Regions from separate parts of the Homo sapiens genome. Here all the other regions are linked to region 2. The links are contacts of gene promoters, found by promoter capture Hi-C in blood cells and fetal thymus (Javierre and others, 2016). All regions are on one chromosome and are shown on one strand. The core of a region is centred on a gene start or on the middle of the fragment in contact, and the rest is flanking DNA. Distances in the headings are between cores, read along the strand shown. Region 1 holds the start of LOC105375156 (a long non-coding RNA gene). Region 2 holds the start of THSD7A (thrombospondin type 1 domain containing 7A). Region 3 has its middle 46 kb from the start of C7orf78. Region 4 overlaps VWDE (von Willebrand factor D and EGF domains). Region 5 overlaps VWDE (von Willebrand factor D and EGF domains).

What was found. Contacts are between HindIII fragments. The CHiCAGO score rates a contact against its expected background, and 5 or more counts as called.
Region 1: a contact is called between a fragment that was not itself captured here and the fragment with the promoter of THSD7A in region 2, in 5 of 17 cell types (M2 macrophages, megakaryocytes, M1 macrophages and 2 more). The highest score is 9.6, in M2 macrophages.
Region 3: a fragment that was not itself captured here is called in contact with the fragment with the promoter of THSD7A in region 2 in 1 of 17 cell types (megakaryocytes); the score reaches 5.2 in megakaryocytes.
Region 4: a contact is called between a fragment that was not itself captured here and the fragment with the promoter of THSD7A in region 2, in 1 of 17 cell types (M2 macrophages). The highest score is 5.3, in M2 macrophages.
Region 5: a contact is called between a fragment that was not itself captured here and the fragment with the promoter of THSD7A in region 2, in 1 of 17 cell types (M1 macrophages). The highest score is 5.1, in M1 macrophages.

The regions. Positions count from the first base shown.
Region 1 is chr7:12,494,032-12,497,764 of GRCh38, forward strand. LOC105375156 (a long non-coding RNA gene) reads right to left here and starts at 2,480. Exons shown (of 8, transcript XR_001745093.2): 1 at 2,265-2,480; 2 at 1,783-1,808; 3 at 1,487-1,521; 4 at 183-283. It also overlaps a transcript of C7orf78 not described here. RefSeq lists an enhancer at 2,891-3,519. The HindIII fragment of the contact is 1,039 bases long and covers 1,472-2,510 here.
Region 2 is chr7:11,830,157-11,833,652 of GRCh38, forward strand. It overlaps THSD7A (thrombospondin type 1 domain containing 7A), which reads right to left and starts at 2,042. Exons shown (of 28, transcript NM_015204.3): 1 at 1,601-2,042. The coding sequence starts at 1,790. RefSeq lists a silencer at 1-81 and enhancers at 1,639-2,179, 2,180-2,719. The HindIII fragment of the contact is 6,451 bases long and covers 1-3,496 here.
Region 3 is chr7:12,456,616-12,460,445 of GRCh38, forward strand. No RefSeq gene overlaps it. Among named protein-coding and RNA genes, the nearest start is that of C7orf78, 46 kb to the right of the region's middle. The HindIII fragment of the contact is 1,269 bases long and covers 1,910-3,178 here.
Region 4 is chr7:12,361,977-12,365,839 of GRCh38, forward strand. All of the region lies in intron 13 of VWDE (von Willebrand factor D and EGF domains), which reads right to left. Among named protein-coding and RNA genes, the nearest start is that of VWDE, 40 kb to the right of the region's middle. The HindIII fragment of the contact is 5,208 bases long and covers 1-3,863 here.
Region 5 is chr7:12,390,294-12,394,050 of GRCh38, forward strand. It overlaps VWDE (von Willebrand factor D and EGF domains), which reads right to left. Exons shown (of 29, transcript NM_001135924.3): 2 at 3,301-3,485. Among named protein-coding and RNA genes, the nearest start is that of VWDE, 12 kb to the right of the region's middle. The HindIII fragment of the contact is 2,437 bases long and covers 1,290-3,726 here.

The sequences.
Region 1 (3,733 bases), core at 741-3,240, 660 kb after region 2:
AAGAGAATAAATGAGCATTTTGGAATGCTGTAAAAGGCAACAGGCTAAATAAGGTAGTGAAACAGGAATTATAAACCACTGGAGGATGACAAATAGACTATAAGCATCTTAGGGTGGGAGTGGAGGAAGGGACCAAGAGGCTGAAAGGTGAGGTAAAAGTGAGGAGAGAAGGCAATATTGACCATTTTGCCTGGGTCCTTTGGAAAAGCTGCTGATGGTGGGATCCACACTGGTCTCAGCTGTGGTGCACTGTGGTGTACATGGTGCATGATGGATGCTTGACCTGGTAAGTAAATATGGAACAAGATAATTCCTTCTCTGAAGTATCACTCCCACTTAGTCAAGGGAGCATATTTTAATCTCTGTGACTTGAACATAGATAATTGAAGAAGGAGGTGTCTAACCATAATAAATTTAAGAGGCTCCTTAGAAAAAAGGGAGAGAAAAAACACAAATTAACAAGCAAGCTCTGAACATCAGAAGTGCTGACACAGACAACCTCAGACTTGACAAGCAGCCAAATTTATTATAGGCACAATATGATAGCATCGTACATTATTAGGTGTATTTTACTCATGCATAGCCCTACTTTGTAAACAAATCACTGTGAATTGACCTCTATTTCCCTACAGCAATAACTGATCATCTGTTTAGAAATACATATTCTAGAATTTATTGAGGTTCTGTGGTGCAATAAGCATGACTGTCCTAAAATGACATTGAGAGCTCACCTTTGGCTGCCTCATCACTGAGAAAATTAGAATTTGGGGCTGCTACCTCCTCCTAGTGGTAAGGCTGCTTTCAAACTCAACCTACCACTGAACTGTTAGCCCTTTCCCTTGAAAAAGAGGAATGCAACTTCACACAGGTCCCCAAAGTCACCAGGTACCGATAGACAACTTTTCCCAAACAACACCTCCACGCACAGTTGACATCCAAACTCAGTAAAGATGGTGCCCAGATAACCTGTTAGTCAGTCTGTTCTGCCCGTCTTCTCCCATTGATAAAATTGCTCTCAGGCTTGCTCTGTGGTAAAGGAGAATGTCAAGAGGAGGAATTCTTACCACCCAAAATGTTCACCCACCATGTGTCCAACAGAGTGTCCTGGGCCTGGTCATTCATCCGGGGGATATTAAAAGGATTAGACCACACAAACACACTCATTTTTTTTCCTCATCTTACGCTGTAAATTTGTTACTCATGAAAGTCTATTCCCTATCCCACACTGTGTGACATGTCAGATGGTGGCCACAAAGTGGCTGTTTTGCACAGCTCTTTCAAGGATTAAATTCAGGCATGTCTAATCTCCAATGTCCAGTCTTAAAGCACCTCACCTTCCCAATAGGTTTCCAAAGGGTGCCAGCTCATTTCCCACTGCCAGTCGTCTTATTGTGCTGATATGTAATTAATATGGCTTTATGAACCTGAATTTATGTAAATATGTTATTTTACTATCCTCTCACCTTTCTTAAGCTTCAATTCTTACCTAGTTGTGTTGGTTATTTCCAGTTTGGAAATCCCCTTTGAAAGAGAAAGAGACAAAATAGGAGTTAGACTGTTTAGCTACATTATGGCATTAGTTGATATTACTTATTTTTTCCAAGTAAAGAAAGTCTCTTGTTTTTATTTTCTTTTTCGGAACACTATTTAAAGCCTATTTTACTTCTTTTTTAACTTATAGAATATTTCAAGTTGCAATTATCTGTTCTATGAAAAAATTATTACCACAGTAAATTTTAAGTTATTCCATTTATACAAACATATGTAATTCAAATAACTTACTTAAAAGCGTTCATGTTCCTTAATGCCTAGAAATACAGAAATCAGAGTGTTGAGGTTTTCATTTGCCACAACTTGTTGCGTTCCCAAATTTGTGGAGCTGAGAAACTCAAAAAAAATTTTTTTTTTTTTTGAGACGGAGTCTCACTCTTTCGCCCAAGCCAGACTGCAGTGGCGTGATCTCGGCTCACTGCAAGCTCTGCCTCCCGGGTTCACGCCATTCTCTTGCCTCAGCCTCCAGAGTAGGTGCAACTACAGGTGCCCGCCACCACACCTGGCTAATTTTTTGTATTTTTAGTAGAGACGGGGTTTCACCGTGTTAGCCAGGATGGTCTCGATCTCCTGACCTCGTGATCCGCCGCCCTCGGCCTCCCAAAGTGCTGGGAATACAGGCGTGAGCCACCTCGTCTGGCTGAGAAACTCAAAATTTCTAACTCTAAATTTCTAATTTGGAAATTCAGAAATATACATTCAGAATTACCTACCTGAGAGGAGACTTTTGGATGGTTCTACATATAATTGAAGTCAGTTGGCCACAAAATAATGTTTACATATTAGAAAATTCCAAGAATGCATTCATGAGAGCATTAAAGAAAATTCCAGAATGTTGCTTATGCTGTTCGTCCATCCAAACTCCTTTCCCTTCTTCTCCCCTTTTATTAAGTACTCTACTGTCATCAAGGGTTAGTAATGATCTCAGATGCTCTAAGAAATCTTTGGAGACATTCTCAAGCTTCAGAGACCTTCCTCTCACTAATTTCTCATGAGAGTAACCGTCAGGACAAATCACTTGGCATTTAGCACCTTATCTCGTGATGTATTCTTATAGGTTTGTATCTTTTCTAGCCAATTACTTATAATTTACTTGAAATCTGGAGTCATAATCTATTTTTGTACCCTAAACAACTAATAACAGTGAACTAAACATAAGTAGGTATTTGTATATATGCTTTTGATAAAGAACCATATGTATCTCTATGCAAAAAACAATGAGGCATAAATCAGATAGCATAAAGATAGGTTAATTCTATTTCCAAAACTATAAGAGATTTAGTCAATTCAACTTTACTGCCGTTTTCATTAGAAATAAAAACACCTTAAAATTGAACATCAGGGAAAATAATACAGAAAAAATTTTGGCTTCTTAGTTTATAAACTAGGACAAAATTATAAGTAATTTACTGCCACCTGGTGGCAAACTTTCACTTTAAATAAAATGAACAGTTAAAAGAAAGACTCCAGCCATTGTGGATCTTTGTCTAGGAAATTTTATATTCCGTTAGAAAAATATTAGAAGAGAAGTTAATACCCAAGTCATAGGAGATTTTGGACCAAAGAAGAGTAAGTAACTAGCCCGAATCAAATAAACTGTAAAGAAAAAAATCAAAATTATTTATGGCGGGGGGAGGAGCCAAGATGGCCGAATAGGAACAGCTCCGGTCTACAGCTCCCAGCCTGAGCGACGCAGAAGACGGGTGATTTCTGCATTTCCATCTAAGGTACCGGGTTCATCTCACTAGAGAGTGCCAGACAGTGGGCACAGGTCAGTGAGTGCGCACACCGTGCGCGAGCAGAAGCAGGGCGAGGCATTGCCTCACTCGGGAAGCGCAAGGGGTCAGGGAGTTCCCTTTCCTAATCAAAGAAAGGGGTGACGGACGGCACCTGGAGAATCGGGAAAATCGGGTCACTCCCACTCGAATACTGCGCTTTTCCCACGGGCTTAAAAAACGGTGCACCATGAGATTATACCCTGCACCCGGCTCGGAGGGTCCTACCCCACGGAGTCTCGCTGATTGCTAGCACAGCAGTCTGAGATCAAACTGCAAGGCGGCAGCGAGGCTGGGGGAGGGGCGCCCACCATTGCCCAGGCTTGATTAGGTAAACAAAGCAGCTGGGAAGCTCGAACTGGGTGGAGCCCACCACAGCTCAAGGAGGCCTGCCTGCCTCTGTAGGC
Region 2 (3,496 bases), core at 792-3,291:
TTTATTGGCTTGTGTTCCTACCATGACATTTATGATGACATATATTGACACCTCAGATGCTGTACAGTGAATGTTGGCTGGGCTCTTTTCCATCTGAATTATTGCTTGGCTCTTGTTACTTTGCTAGTATAAATTTCAACTAGGCAACTACTATTTCATCCTACACTGACTTACCTAAGAAGCTCTCCCCAAGCATCCATATGATACCATTTAATGGTAAATTATAATTTGATTAATGTTTGTCATTATGAATGTGCTTTTAACAAGTAAAACCCTAGCTTACGCTAAATTAGAGATCTTCAAATCTTCGTTTCAAATTGAAGTAAATTAATTTTATTTCATTTGAATTCATTACTCAACTGATCTTCAAACTTAAGGTGTTAGCAAGAATAATCTTGCTTTTTAAAATGTGTATATGTTTCATGTAATCTTCTAAGACAAATTGTGTACTTTGACTTTAAATAAATTTCTGTTTAATCTCCTCACTAAATTTCTGGATAGCTGCAACTTCTTTAAAAATTCCAGATATCGATAGTGATGCAATTGTAGAGTAGACTGAGCTGTCTCTTCAGTAGTGGTGCAGAGATGGGCTGAAGCAGGAAAAGACACTCACTCCCTGAAACCTGTTTGCAACCCCATGACGAATACATACTTTCCCTTTCAACTACAACATTCTCTTAATGTTTGGCATGACCAAGTTATTCTTAAATTACCCCCTAGCTCTAAGCAACAGGAATAATCTTTTCCCATTTTATTCCTATGAACATGTGAAGTTTCAGGTCCCCTAAGGAATTCTCAATGTTTTTTTAATGCAGAGAGAAAGCGAACCCGCAGAAAAGGGGTTGGTAATTCCTCACTCCGTATTGTTTTCCTGCCTGTCACGGCCCCCGCCAGAAACTCCAAGCATTTTGCCAATGGGTAATGATGGGCAGTTAGTAGCTGCTTTTGTTGGGTGGTTGAAAAACAAAGCAAAACAATTCTCAAGGAAGGAAGAGAAAGTTTGAACCCAGACATCCTAAAAGTTGTACACTTTAAAAATCCTCCGACTCGCTAGTTAATAATTGAGTTTTCAGTCTTTCCCTGAAGGCTCACTGGAGCCCCATTTGCCTTTAATTGTTGGAACCGCCCTCACTTGGCTTGTTTCTGAGGTGTCCCACATATCACAAAGCTAAAGTTAACAAATTCAACTCTATATCCACAAATGTCATGACAGTGAGCATATTGCTTTGCCTAAAGAATAAAGACTGAGACTAAACTCTTTGCTTGTTCTTTGCTAGAAATCTGTTTGAGAAACTCCTAGTAGAATGAAAATCCAGGGGTTAAAAATAATGCACTTCATCATGGAAGTGCGCGTTGCCCTCATTACAGAGCTGCGAGAGAAATATTCCAGCTACTCACTGTTGCCTCTTAGTTGTTATGCTTTTCTTTCCTAATTGCATCGGACATGACCTATTTGCTTCCTAAGAAATCATACTTTTTACCTTAGGATACCAGCATAACCAAGCCATCCAAAAGCACCGGGGTCCCTACAGAAGCCCACCAGCTCCTTAATGTGGCCCCAGATGTGAAGATGGGGAAAGGGTAACTCCGTCCCACTTACCAGTCTTCCACAGATAGAGGGTGGGCGCCTCCGCCTCGCCCTGCGCCGCAGCCCTGCCGGCGCCCGGGCGTAGCAGCAGCAGCAGGAGCAGCGGCAGCGGCAGCGGCAGCGGCAGCAGCTGCAGGACGCCCCGGCGCGGCCCCGCAGCGCCCCGGCTCCCGGACGCCCAGCGCCTGGCTTGCAGCCCCATGCCGCCTGCAGCCACTCCAGGGTCCAGAGCCGTAGCACGCTCGGCAGGGAATTTTTCTCCGCTCTTGGAACGTCTTTTCAAAGAGTACAGAAAGCAAAGCTCTTTCCTGCTATTGTTCGCTTCAGATGAGAAGGAGGGAGAGCGCGTCTAACACCAGGGAACAATAGCGTCCGCGGTGGTGGCCGTGGCCGCTGCCGCCGCCGCCGCCGCCTCTGGCGGGGATGCTGCTGCCGCTGCCATTCCTCGCAGAATGGCAGGTCCCGGCGGCTCCGGAGGCAACTGTCCTCAGGGGGCCCCAGCTGACTGAGCAGGTCTGCTAGGTCTGGGAGGCAGCGCAGCCCCCGCCAGCTGGAGGGGGAGGAGGGGGGCGTGAGCCCAAAGGAGCAGAGGGGGCTGGAGGCAGAGGGAGGCGAGAGCGCGAGGGCGAGAAAGGGGGCGAGCAAAGGGGAGAGGGGCCAGCCAGGCGACACCCACCTCCGACATACCCGCCTAAAGAACTCCGGTGCACATGGTGCGATGAAATATGTTTGGAAGGATGCACCAATAAAAAGAATCATCACCCGGCAGATTTCAGAATGACAAATAACAGGCATTGATATTCACTGTCATCCAAGGAGTCAAATGCTAGATCTAGTGGCATGCTATTCTTAGTACGTATTTACACAAAGCATCAGTGTTTATTATCTATTTTTAAGCCATGGCTTCTGAATTACTTTGTGTGGGGAGCAGTATTTGAGATCAGGTGTGAAAACACGAGAGCAGAAATGTTGACTTGTCAAAATGCACTTAAACCCTTCTTTAAATGTTGTTTTTAACTTAATCTATTATCAATAAAAATATGAGCAATATTGATGCTCTGTGACAAATTAAATTGTCTTTTAATAGCCTTTAAAACTGAATTAGTGTTAATGAGTATTTGCAATGCTACCTAATTACATAAATACAATTGTACAAAAAAAAAACCCTTAAAATTAAAATTATATTTCAGGTATAGAGTTCTGTCCCTTCATCTACTTCTTTCCCTCAAAAATATGCTACTTCTAAGTATTCAGATAGTTGTGAGTCAAACTGAGTCAGTAATGCTGTCTGGATATCTTGGAATTAGTAAATTCTTCATTTAAAATTTCCCTGACACCGATTTTTCTTAACTCTTACTGTAGCAAAATGCCTGTCGCAATCTAAATAAGGAACCACATGTGTTTGCATCTTTTGTCCTTTGTGTTTTCACTTTCTTCTACCAGTAGTAATAGAAGAATGTGTGTGAAGTCGGATAATGCTTTCCCCTTTCTCCTTCTCCCTTTAGCTAATAATAATATATTTTATTATTAATTCATTTCACAGTAAAGCTAAAATAGTAGGCATTTAACCATTAAAAATTCAGCAAACGGAAAGCCAAAGAAAACTACTATCCCATCAGCAATTTTCAGCCAAATAAAATAAAATTTTAAAAGCAGGAAAACTACTTTTTATGAATTTACTCCAACATAGCTACCCTAGAGTTTAAGATGAGGAAGCTACTCTTTCTGAAAGAGGAAACCTTCCATAAGGCTCCCTTGGGACCCTTGTCATTTTGCAAAGCCTTCCAGACACAGCCCCTCTGCATGCATTAGATTAAAAGCGGGTTTGATCAAATAATTCCCAGGTCCTGCCTGTTTAAGTATTCTGACATCAGAGGAAATTAGCTACGTTGAAGGTTGCAAATTTGG
Region 3 (3,830 bases), core at 1,294-3,793, 630 kb after region 2:
CTCATTTTGGTGAAGATGGAATGAGAGTCCTGGAGCCCCACCCCCAGATTCTGGGACAGCTGCCAACTGGCAATCATACCCAGTAAGTAGGGCTGACTTAGCCCAAGAAGGTATTTCCCGGTTAAAAAAAACAGGCAATTATGTGAAACTAATAGAGCTTAGAATCTTTGAAGAATCTGATGGTGCATTGCCCTTGCCTACACTTCTCTGGCCTGGCAGTCCTCATAGTTTATTTCCTACATGTAGTTGTGTCATTTTGTCAGTAAAGCAGCACTTGGCACCATTAAAACCAAAATGTTAAATTTATTTTATACCAGATATAATGTTAATTTTGTACATAAAACTCTACTTTGCAAACTGAGATTCAATAGTAACATCCTATTCAAAAAAACATGCTTTGGCTGGGCGCGGTGCCTCACGCCTATAATCCCAACATTTTCGGAAGCCCAGGCAGATGGATCACCTGAGGCCAGGAGTTCAAGACCAGCCTAGCCAAGATAACAAAACTCTGTCTCTACTAAAAATAAAAATAAAAATAATTTTAAAAAAAAGAAAAAAAGAAATACAAAAATTAGTGGGGCAAGGTGGCTCCTGCCTGTAGTCCCAGCTACTCGGGAAACAGGCAGGAGAATCACTTCAAGCTGGGAGGCAGAGAGTGCAGTGAGCAGAGATCATGCCACTGCACTCCAGCACTCCATCTCAAACAAAACCAAACAAACAAACAAATAAACAAAAAAAACATGTTTTTTTCTTACTTGCAGGTTTTATCTCTATAATTGAAAAAATAAAACTCAAGGGGGAAGGCATAAATACCAGTTAATACTGATCTTATATTCTACAGTTGATTGTATGAGGCATATTAACTCCCAAAACTTAATACTATGCTCATTATACTACTATTAGTTAATGTTATATATTCTAGTGAATATATTATTTTTATATATTCTATAGTTTAAGTTCAGTGGAAATCAGAAAACCTGATGCATTGTTTTATGCTGGTATTTTGTCTTTTTCTCCACAAGCACACATGTGATTTTATTAAATTCTTCTTCCCTTTTTATTTTTTTATTTTTGAGATGGAGTCCCCCTCTGTCATCCAGGCTGGATGGAGTGCAGTGGTGCAATCTCGACTCACTGCAACCTCCTCCTTCCAGGTTCAAGCAATTCTCCTGCCTCAGCCTCCCAAGTAACTGCGACTACAGGCATGTGCTACCACGCCCAGCTAATTTTTGTATTTTTAGCAGAGACAGGGTTTCACCATGTTGGCCAGGCTAGTCTCGAACTTCTGACCCCAAGTGATCCGCCCACCTTGGCCTCCCAAAGTGCTGGGATTACAGGTGTGAGCCACCAAGGCCAGCCTAAATTTTCTTAAGGATCCTGAGACATAGGAACAAATAATTTAAAATTTCAGCTCAGTGCCATTAAGAGCTCTTGTTTTACCCTTATAAACCATTTTCTGGTAGATTACTCGCTCATTTGACTCCTAATTAATATGCTGTTAACTTCTCTGTCCATTGCTCTTTTTTCACTTTGTCTACATCGTTTCTTGCATGATTCATTCTGTCCCATGGCCTATTTATTATTCTTACCCACCAAATCATAAATGTGTATCCCCAGTCCTGATCTTCTAACTGAGCCTAAGATCCATATAACCAACCTCTGAACCCAGCATGTCCAGGACTTCACATATACCACCCACAGCACACACAGTTTTCCATGATTTGAGCTTTGTAAATTCTCAGACTCTACTCCTCACACTTCCTGTTTCACACTTATATATCATTAAAACTGAACTCCACTCCTACCTCATTATACATTTGTGTTAACTTCAGGGTATTAAAATTATATCCAACTTTATCTTACCTACTAAGCTATGAACTCATTGAGTTCAATAATTCATTAACTCCAAAGCTTTATTTATTTATGAAGATCCAATACCTAACTTGGTGTTTAATAATGATAATGAATATTGTTTGAGTTGAACCGAACTAAAATACATCAAACTCAAGCCTCCTCTGATATCCACAGTTATCTAGCTCACTGGTGGATGTTAGGGTGTGTTGGTGCAAATTGTAATACTCTATTCTTATCCATAGGTGGCAGCAAGCCCCTAAAATTAGGGGGAAAATGGGCTGTGCATAGATAGGAGGATATCTATATCTATCCAAAAATACTAAGCAAGGGAAGAAAATACAATCTATTAACTTGGGAGCTCCTTAAGTGAGTGTTTCTGTCTTAATTACTCAATATCCCCAGGGTCCCTACATACCTCATTGTCTCACTCCTTCCAGACTTTTGTAAGTGCCGTTGTGTTGGTCTCTACATCTGTTTGCTGGTAGCTGAGAATAACAATGAAGTTGATTAAATTTGGTTTTGGTAATATATTTTTCTCTGGACAAACCTCTCTCTTGGCTGTTCCCGAAGTACCTATCACCCATTCTATACGGCTTTTCCTGAATTATTTTTCAATTTATTTCTAATACATGTTAATTATTTTTTACATATTATTACATAGGATGTATTATCTATATATGTCCTATGAAGTATTTGTACCATAATACAGAATACTCTAAAAAAAAATGACAAAAGTTACCAAATTCTTTCCATTCTTCTATTTCCTAGGTAACCAATCCTTACCACGTGACATGCATCCTTCTCCATATTTATACACACTCATAAAAAGTGCACACACACACACACACACACACAGGAATTTGAGGTGGTTTTGGTTCATTTTTTAAAAAATGAGCTAGTGTTGTCTTAATTTGTGTAAAATAGTTTTCTACCTTAAAACAGATACTATACATTCCTCCGGGTTCATATGTGTACATCTAACTTATTTTTAATAGATACAAAGTATTCCACAACCACAATCCAATCAACATTTTATTCTTTATAGATAAACAAGTTAATACCAGTTTCTGAGAGCCCCCTCCCTCAGAGTTTCATCACACAGATACTTTACAATTTATCTGGAGAAATTGTCTTTAAGAAAAAAAAATGGTCTTTTTCTCTCTGTGGAAATCATATATAAACAGAGACTCCAAAGCATTTTTTATTTTTAATTGTGTTGATATTGCCAAATAAGTTTCTGGAATGCAATAATAATTAATATTCCCATAAACATGATCAGGAGTAAACCCACAGCTAACATCATACTCAATGGGGAAAGACTGAAAGCTTTCTCCATAACCCATTTATGCCTGAGGTTGCAACTTTTTGAATTTTTGCAATCAGACCTTGACAATAACCTTGAGCAGTTGGATATAAATTATTCCCATATGCTTAGTGTTCCGATAATGGGACACTAGGCATAAATGGTTTTAAGCTCAAGAACATAACAAGAATGTCTGCTTTCACCATTGCTATTCATTATTGTACTAGTAGTTCTAGCCAGTACAATTAGATAAGAAAAGGCATCCAAATTGGAAAGGATTAAGTAAAACTATCTCTATTTACATATAACATGATCCTGCATATAGAAAATCCCAAAAAAAATCACAAGAAAGCTATTAGAGCTAAGAAATGTGGTTAGCAATGTTGAACAATATCAATAAACGACGAAAATCAATTTTGTTCCTATAATATTTGCAGTGAACAATGCAAAAAGGAAATTAATAAAGCAATTTCATTTACAATAGCATTTAAATAATAATATACATATTTAGGAAATAAATTTAACCAAAATTTGCAAAACTTTTGTTTTATAGTTTACTTGAAAACTATAAAGCATTGTTGAAACAAATTTTGAAAAAACTGAATAAATGGAGCAACAACTCATGCTCATAGGTAAGAAGACTTAATATTGTTAAAACATTAACTCTATCCAA
Region 4 (3,863 bases), core at 1,271-3,770, 530 kb after region 2:
AATCTCCCTGACTATGCTTGACTGGTGCAGGGGCGGACCTAAGCTAGGCCAATATTTCAATACTCATGATATTTTAACTTTGTACCAATGGAGATGTCATGTCAGTTGGCCTCTGATGGCTTGAGTTGCAAGACACAAAACTATGGAGTGGTTGGTGGCCATTTTTTCACTATGGAGAGAAAGCCAGTATATAGTGAAACAGGAAAATGAAGCCCACAAACAAAAGCCAAATTGAGACAAACATACACACACACACACACACACACACATAAAAATGCACACATACTGAGTCTTCATGGTGTTCAAGTCCCAAGTTCAAGATTTTTCTTGAGAATTCAGCTACTTTCTTATTCTTGATTCTCTAAGAAATATACTATCCTCATAATAAATATTTTTGCTCAAGTTAGTTTATTAGTAATTTGAAACTAAATAAACTCTACTTAGTTCACTCTACTTAATAACTCAGTGACACATTATGCTTAAGCTACACTTTTAGTATTGTTTTTCAGTATGAAAATGCACTGGTCCCAAAAGAAGAGAAGCCAGCATAATGTTCCAGGTACGGATAACTACGTAGGAAACCAAAAGCTATATTTTGCTGTCAAAATTTAGATTTAGATTTTTCTTTGAAACTTATTACTGTCAAATGTTTTCAACCACTCAGAATTTGTCATAGAGCATGCTGATGCTTCAATATTGTGGGTCAGCAGGAAAGGGAAAGGAAAACATGATCACCCTAATCTGCAGCTAACAGAAATTACGTTTTTGAAGATTTGATGATTGAAAGAGTGAGCTGCAAATCTCCATATTTAAGGGAGTATGGAGAGTCTAGCCTAGCAGATCTACCAGTGGTTTCCCTCTTGTAGAAGAAGAATGATGATTTCTCAGAGTAGTCATGATATCTACACTTAGGTGAATGTACAGTCTCGGTTTCTTGTGCAGAAAGAAAGCTCCAGCTAATGACTGGCAATATAGAGATTATTCCCAACTTTCTATTTCAAGGGGCCTACCCAAAATGAGGAATATACAGTGTTCTATTTCCTTTTCATTCATCAATATTTTGTGAGTATATATTATGTGCTGAAAATATCTCAGTGAAAAAAGATCACAAAGAAAATGACAGACAATATATAATTGTATTATTGCATTAAAAGAGACTCAAATAAGATATAATACAAAAGGAGTTATTAAGTCTAACTAACTAGCACAGTCAAAGAAGCCTTCAAAAAAGCAAACACTTCTCTTCCTGAAAATAAAAAGGGAGACTGCTATTTGGACACTGGGAGCAGAAGTGGAAAGAGTGCAATTCACATGAATGGAGGGAATAGTGTATGAAAAAGACAGGGATGCATGGAACAGCATAAACAGGAAGTTCAAGCCTACAAATATAGACAAGAGCTAAATCATAATGTGCCATCCATTTCTTGGTTAACATCCTGTATTTAATCCTATAAATCAGCAACCTTAAAATTGGATTTTGTAGAGTCTTGACTGCTTTGGGGGAGGAAGTGAAAGAAATGCTTAAGTGGTTGAATCTCTAGCTAAAGACTTGCTTAAAACTACTAATACAAAAGTAGAAAAAAGCATGTAAAATATGTTACACTTTATATTAAAAAAAGAGTTTCTATCCATTTTTTGTACCAAAGAAATATAGTAAGGATTAACCAGAAAATGATGACAGTAGAAACATACTTTAATGAAAAGAAGGAGTGATGGAAAGCAGATGACAGGGATGACAAGAAAGTAACAATTCTATGTGCATACCTTTGTATAGCTTCAACTCTTAGAACTATAATATTTCATATACCCTCCAAATAATTAAATAATTATAATCAACCAGAGTGTGGAAGAAACTCAAAATGGAAGACAAATATTTTTAAAACCTAGTTGTATTATAAATAAAACAGATAACCACTCTAAACAGAGTGGAAAATAGTTAATCTAACTCACTTTGGAAAGCAGTATCTGCCTTTATATTGTGACCTTGTTTCATGAATTTGTTTTTTTACAGAGGAAAGGCTTAGAATTTCTGAAACTGACTTACATATACATTTAGATTGAGAAACCAGGTAAATATATTGTGGATCATGAGAGCCAGTTTTCACTTGTAAAGAAAAGAGTTACAAATAAGGAAAGGAGAAGGCTAGAATGAACCTTATGGCACTGCACTGAAATCAGAAGTATCAGTATCAACTCACAGAGATGACAGATAGATAAACCGATAGATAGGTAGTTACGTGTGTGTATAAGTGTACATACATAGATTTTCTAACTGTATCCATTAAAAGGGCCAAGAAGGATTAACTACCCTGTAACAAGAAGCACACCTTGCACCCAAGTCTTGGATTTTAAATGACCCTCTTTGATAAATGGAACTACAGTCTTTAGAGAAACAGTTGATTCTAGAGTTGGGGTAGGAAAAATATGAGTCTGGAATATCATATGATGCCAGAATGTGATAAATTGTTCAAAAAATTATGGGAGCAAGTTAAAAGGACGTGTGAACGAATTTGTAATAGTTCCCAATGGTCAAAGCTAGAATAATTTAAACAGCCAAATAAAGAATGATAGCATTGAGTTATAATTCATGAAATAAGTTTCCATTAGTCTACACTGGCATGAGTAAATAAATGAATAAATAAATTGGAAACAAGGAACAGCTCTTCCTTTCAGTAGAATTCCAGATAATATGTGTAGAAGAAATGATGGAAATAGAAAATCACCACTGGTAAATACCATAGTCATAATTGCTACAAGCAAAAATTATAGTTGGATGCTAAAATTAGGAAGAAAATGTTTGAGGAGCTATCATATATTTGCATAATCTAAAAGTGTCTCCCTACAACGTATTTATTAGTTAAAAAGGGAAAAACAGGGAGCTTAAAGTGAAGATACATGGCAAAAACCCCTTAAGTAAGTGATCAAAATTTACATTGCCCGTGATTAGATACATTGCATCATGAAAGGATGCACTAAAAATTGTACAACATGGCATGACCTCAATCTAACCATAAAAAAGGAACATTCCACAAAATAACTGGCCAGTGCTCTTCGAAAGAACCAAGTGTGCAAAAGATGAAGAAAGATGGAGCACCGTCACAATATTCAAAAGAGCCAAGTGTGCAAAAGATAAAGAAAGATGGAGCACTGTCACAATACGAAAGAGACTGAAGAAACATGACAAAATGCAGTATAAAATCTTAAATTAGATCCTGAATCAGGAAAAGGACCATTATTAGTTGGACAACTGGTAAATTTACAGAACAAGGTCTGTAAATTTGTTAATAGTATTGTATCGAGGTGAATTTTCTGATTTGAATAATTATTTTATGAATATGGTTTATAAATAAGATATTAACTTTATGAGAAACTGGGTGAAGAATTACTGGAAACTGCATTATTTTTACAATTTTTCTGTGAGTATCAAGTTATTCCAAAATAAAAGTTTTTAAAAATTACTTCGTAAAATGGGAAGTCATTAAGGATTTTGCATGACCTGATTTCCAAAATGCTAGATTTTAAAGAGGAACCCAATCTTCGAAGGGAACTGAAATTTGAACTAAGAAGGTGAGCAGGAATCGATTCACGTTGACTGAACATGTAATAGGGGAGCTAGGAGAAGACATTAGCTTAGTGGCAGGGCGAGCACATTCCACACAAAGTGAATGCAAGGCTTTGAGCAGGGCCCATGTTCGTAGGGTTGGGGATCCTAAAATAGTGGCACATTAAACAGACTTGACTGGAGGTATGAATTAAAGGCTAGAAGAGCCTTTAAAACCCAGCACTGGGCAAGACTGGCGCTAGGAGAGACAGACTTAACTTCAGCACAATGTAAAATAAAGACGGATATGCACTCTAATTTT
Region 5 (3,757 bases), core at 1,258-3,757, 560 kb after region 2:
TTGGGAAGAACCAGGGCCCTTACTAAATGCATGATCTTGGACAAGGCACTCAACATCCTTCTCTTTTATATTAGGTGGAAGTGGTACCCACCTCAAAGTGCCATAGTGAGGTATAGATAAAGTAATGTATATAATGCAACTTCTACATAGTAATGGCTAAAAAATCGTTAGCCAGGTTATAATTCTTGTTATTATTTCTATGCTTCAAAGCAAAGGAAAAACATAAAGGAAATATTGATATATGTGATTGAATTATAATTTTTAAAATATAAAAGTTAAATAATAAAATTATATGTAAATAGTACTATATTGTGTTATATTTATGTATAATTATACTATATTTGTTATTTTATTTTAACCATGTAATATTATCCATTTAAAAACTCTAAGACTACAAATGGGCAAAATGTACAAATAGGTAATTCACAAAAGAAACACAAATGCCTAATAAATACATGAGAATATTCAGTATTGCAAAAGGTATGTTTATGTACTGCTATTGGAATTAAAAATTATCACTATGTTTTAAATGAACAACTATATGTATCAAAAGCCTCAAAAAGACTTTAACCATTACTAATTTAACTTATAAAAATCAATCTTACTAAAGACACTAAAATTAAAACAATAATTACATGTACATTCGTCAATTGCAGAATTACTTATTATAGCAAAATCCTGAATGTCCACACATATGGTGATGGTTTAAATAAATATGATACATGTATGACATAATATTATTTTCAAAAATTATGAAAATGAATTTATAATAATAGGAAAATGATAATGCTATAACTGTAACTGAAAAAGAATAGCATGTTTTTCAATTGAACATATAACATGAACATTACGAAATATAAATAAGATAAAACAATAGCAAAATGTTAATAACAGTAGTTATGACTGTGTGGATAGATTATGAAGAAATGTTGTTCCATTCCTGTTCTTTATTTCCTAAGCTTTATGTAATGCATAAGCATTATTTAAAACATTACAAATAGTAATTTATGTAAGTCCACGTGTATTAACCTGTAGAGAAAAAAAATCTATTGATTTTCTGGTTGAATACTTTAAAGCCTTAGTACAAAAAAGGAATGAGAGGGTGGGGATAGGGAACACTTCCTCCTGGAGCACAGCCTGCTCAGGTTAGCTGATCTCCAGGAAAACAGCCAAGGAAACTGTTTCACCTACACATTCGTGTGAGGTTCTAGAAACAATTATAGCTAAATCAGCCTTAAGAGAAAAACACAAATATTTTTAAATGTGGTGAAGTTCCTCCAATTTTCTCAAGCTTTTCTTTTAAATTCTGAATTTTTTTTAGTTCTTTACAAATGAAGTGTCACAAAAGCGACTAATGAGCAAATAAACAAAAAAGAGATAATGAGACTTAGCCACAATGCCACACATTAAAATTAAACACTGTTAAAATTTCAATGTCTTTCCAGAGATCTTTTTACATTAGTGCTTAAAAAGGAAAATGATTCCTGTGTCTGCAGTATTTATAAAATGTGAATAACAATAAGGAAAACAAGCCTTTTGCTAAGACATAATCTTATATGATGTGATCTCTCTCCAGGGGCCAATGGTAGTTGCATGACCTCTAGGTTAAAAGAAAATCGACTTTAAGAATGAACTCACACCCAAAAAGTGTATAATTATATAGGGTAAAATTGTGAGTGATGATGAACACGTTAGTAATTTGGGAAGCATGACACAGACATATGTCTTCAATAATACAATGCCTCTATTAGCTACCTATCACAACTGAACACCTATTTATGCAGAACTCACTTGGGAAACCAGTCAGCTGAGAAAGATTGTGATAAGGGAGAAGATCAGGTACATGACTTTGGTCATGTGACTCATGCTTAGTGTCTGTGTCCACATCTTTATAATGAAGTAACACTAGCTACCTAAAAGCATCACTGAGAGAACTAGTGAGTTTACATATGCAATAATGTCCGCAAGTGCAGGGAATTTATAAGCTGCAAAATAAACGTCAGATTAAAACCCTTCTTACCATTTTGATCATATAACTTAGGATGCTGAGTTAATGGGCTTAGTGTTTTGACAGATTTAGACTTAGTCTCATTCCTTAGATCATGTGGATAAAAATGTGGTATCAATAATAAGAGTTGAACTGACAGGATAACTGGTCGAAGTATGATAAGTAGAAATAATGTCTATTTCATGACAGTATCATTAGATGAATGGGGACTATGAACGAATTAGGGGAACTTGCATTTGAAAATCATGCCAAGGATAAGTAGAATTGTCAATAGAAATTCAGAGTGGCTTGGATAAGTAATGCAAGATAGCTGAGGGACAACCCAAGAAATCACACTTTATGTTTTTTCTTCTGCTTATTTTTTGAAGCATTTTGGAAGAAAATGTATTTGTCAAATGAAATAAGAATGAAAGAAGCCACTTGGGCTAGTTCACTATACAAGACAATGCTATGATCACAATCATATCGTGTTGTAAAAAGAGTGAACGTTACGTAAAGTTAAGTTGCAAAAAAAAAAAAAACACATCCGATGTGAGTTCATGTACAAAACCTTTTTAATTTTGTCCATTTAAACCTGATGTGTTTGAAAGACATACACTTACATATTCACAAGTATAAAGAAAAAAAGGTATGCTGGCTGCACAAATTTGGGGATTGAGGAGAGAGATTCAGTGAGATAAGGCCATATGCCTCCAGAGTATTGAATGTCCTGCAGGTACACTGTCTTTCAATTGTGATCAGAAAATACCTGGAGATTTCACTGCCAGGCTGAGTTCTTATTAGTCTTAGAATAGGAGGTGCTGAGCCCGTAAGTTTTACTCCATCAGTTAAGAAATGAAGTGACAGGTAACAACTGACAAAAACAAGCACTTTAGACACACAGTATTTTACTATTTGCAGGTAATACAGCTAAGCACCTGAGCCCTGGAGAACGACTGCCTGTATTCAAAACTCAGCTTTTTGACCTGCTACCTGTGACTGTAAGAGCACTATGCCTAAGAATATATGTTTTCTGCACTGTTTGATGGAAATGATGATAGATTGTATGCTACAGTTGTAAACTTTTATACAAGATATTGTCGGTGAAAGTGTTTCTGGACTGCATGGAGCATAACACTAACAATTACTATTATTATTAGACTAGGTAATGTGGGAATAGTCTTTCAGATTAACTCAATACAAAATTAAAACAACATTTTAGCATGAGAAATAAGCTGGTGGTAAAAAGATACAATTCTCATATGAAAAACACATAAGGAAAATAACATGCAGTACTTAGGGAGTTGACATACCTCAACACATTTGGTTGGCATCTCGGCAGGTCTGTCAAGGATGAGAAATCTATACCATCCAGGGGAGAGGGAATGGTCACATATTAGGTCTTGAACAGCTGACTGCTGGAGGTGCCATGAGTCAAAACGGACACTTCTATAAGGACTCCGAAGAAACTGGTGTCCCCCAGGAGAGCACTCCTGAGCTAGTATGGAAAGACAGGTGTTTTTATGTAATGTGTTTTGTTTGTTGACATAGTTCGGTCCTCAATTAAAATTGATTCCCAAAACAAAAAATAAAGCAAATAAACTCACTATTGCACATAAAGACCCTCTGAAATGTCAGGGTCTCTTAGTAAGTCATAAATGACTTAACTAACTTGCATGTTTCATAAATGCGATAAACAAATCAACAAAACTCTTTAGAATGTACTTTTGAAACACTTAAGCTTTAAGAACTTTATTTTCATTTAATTCG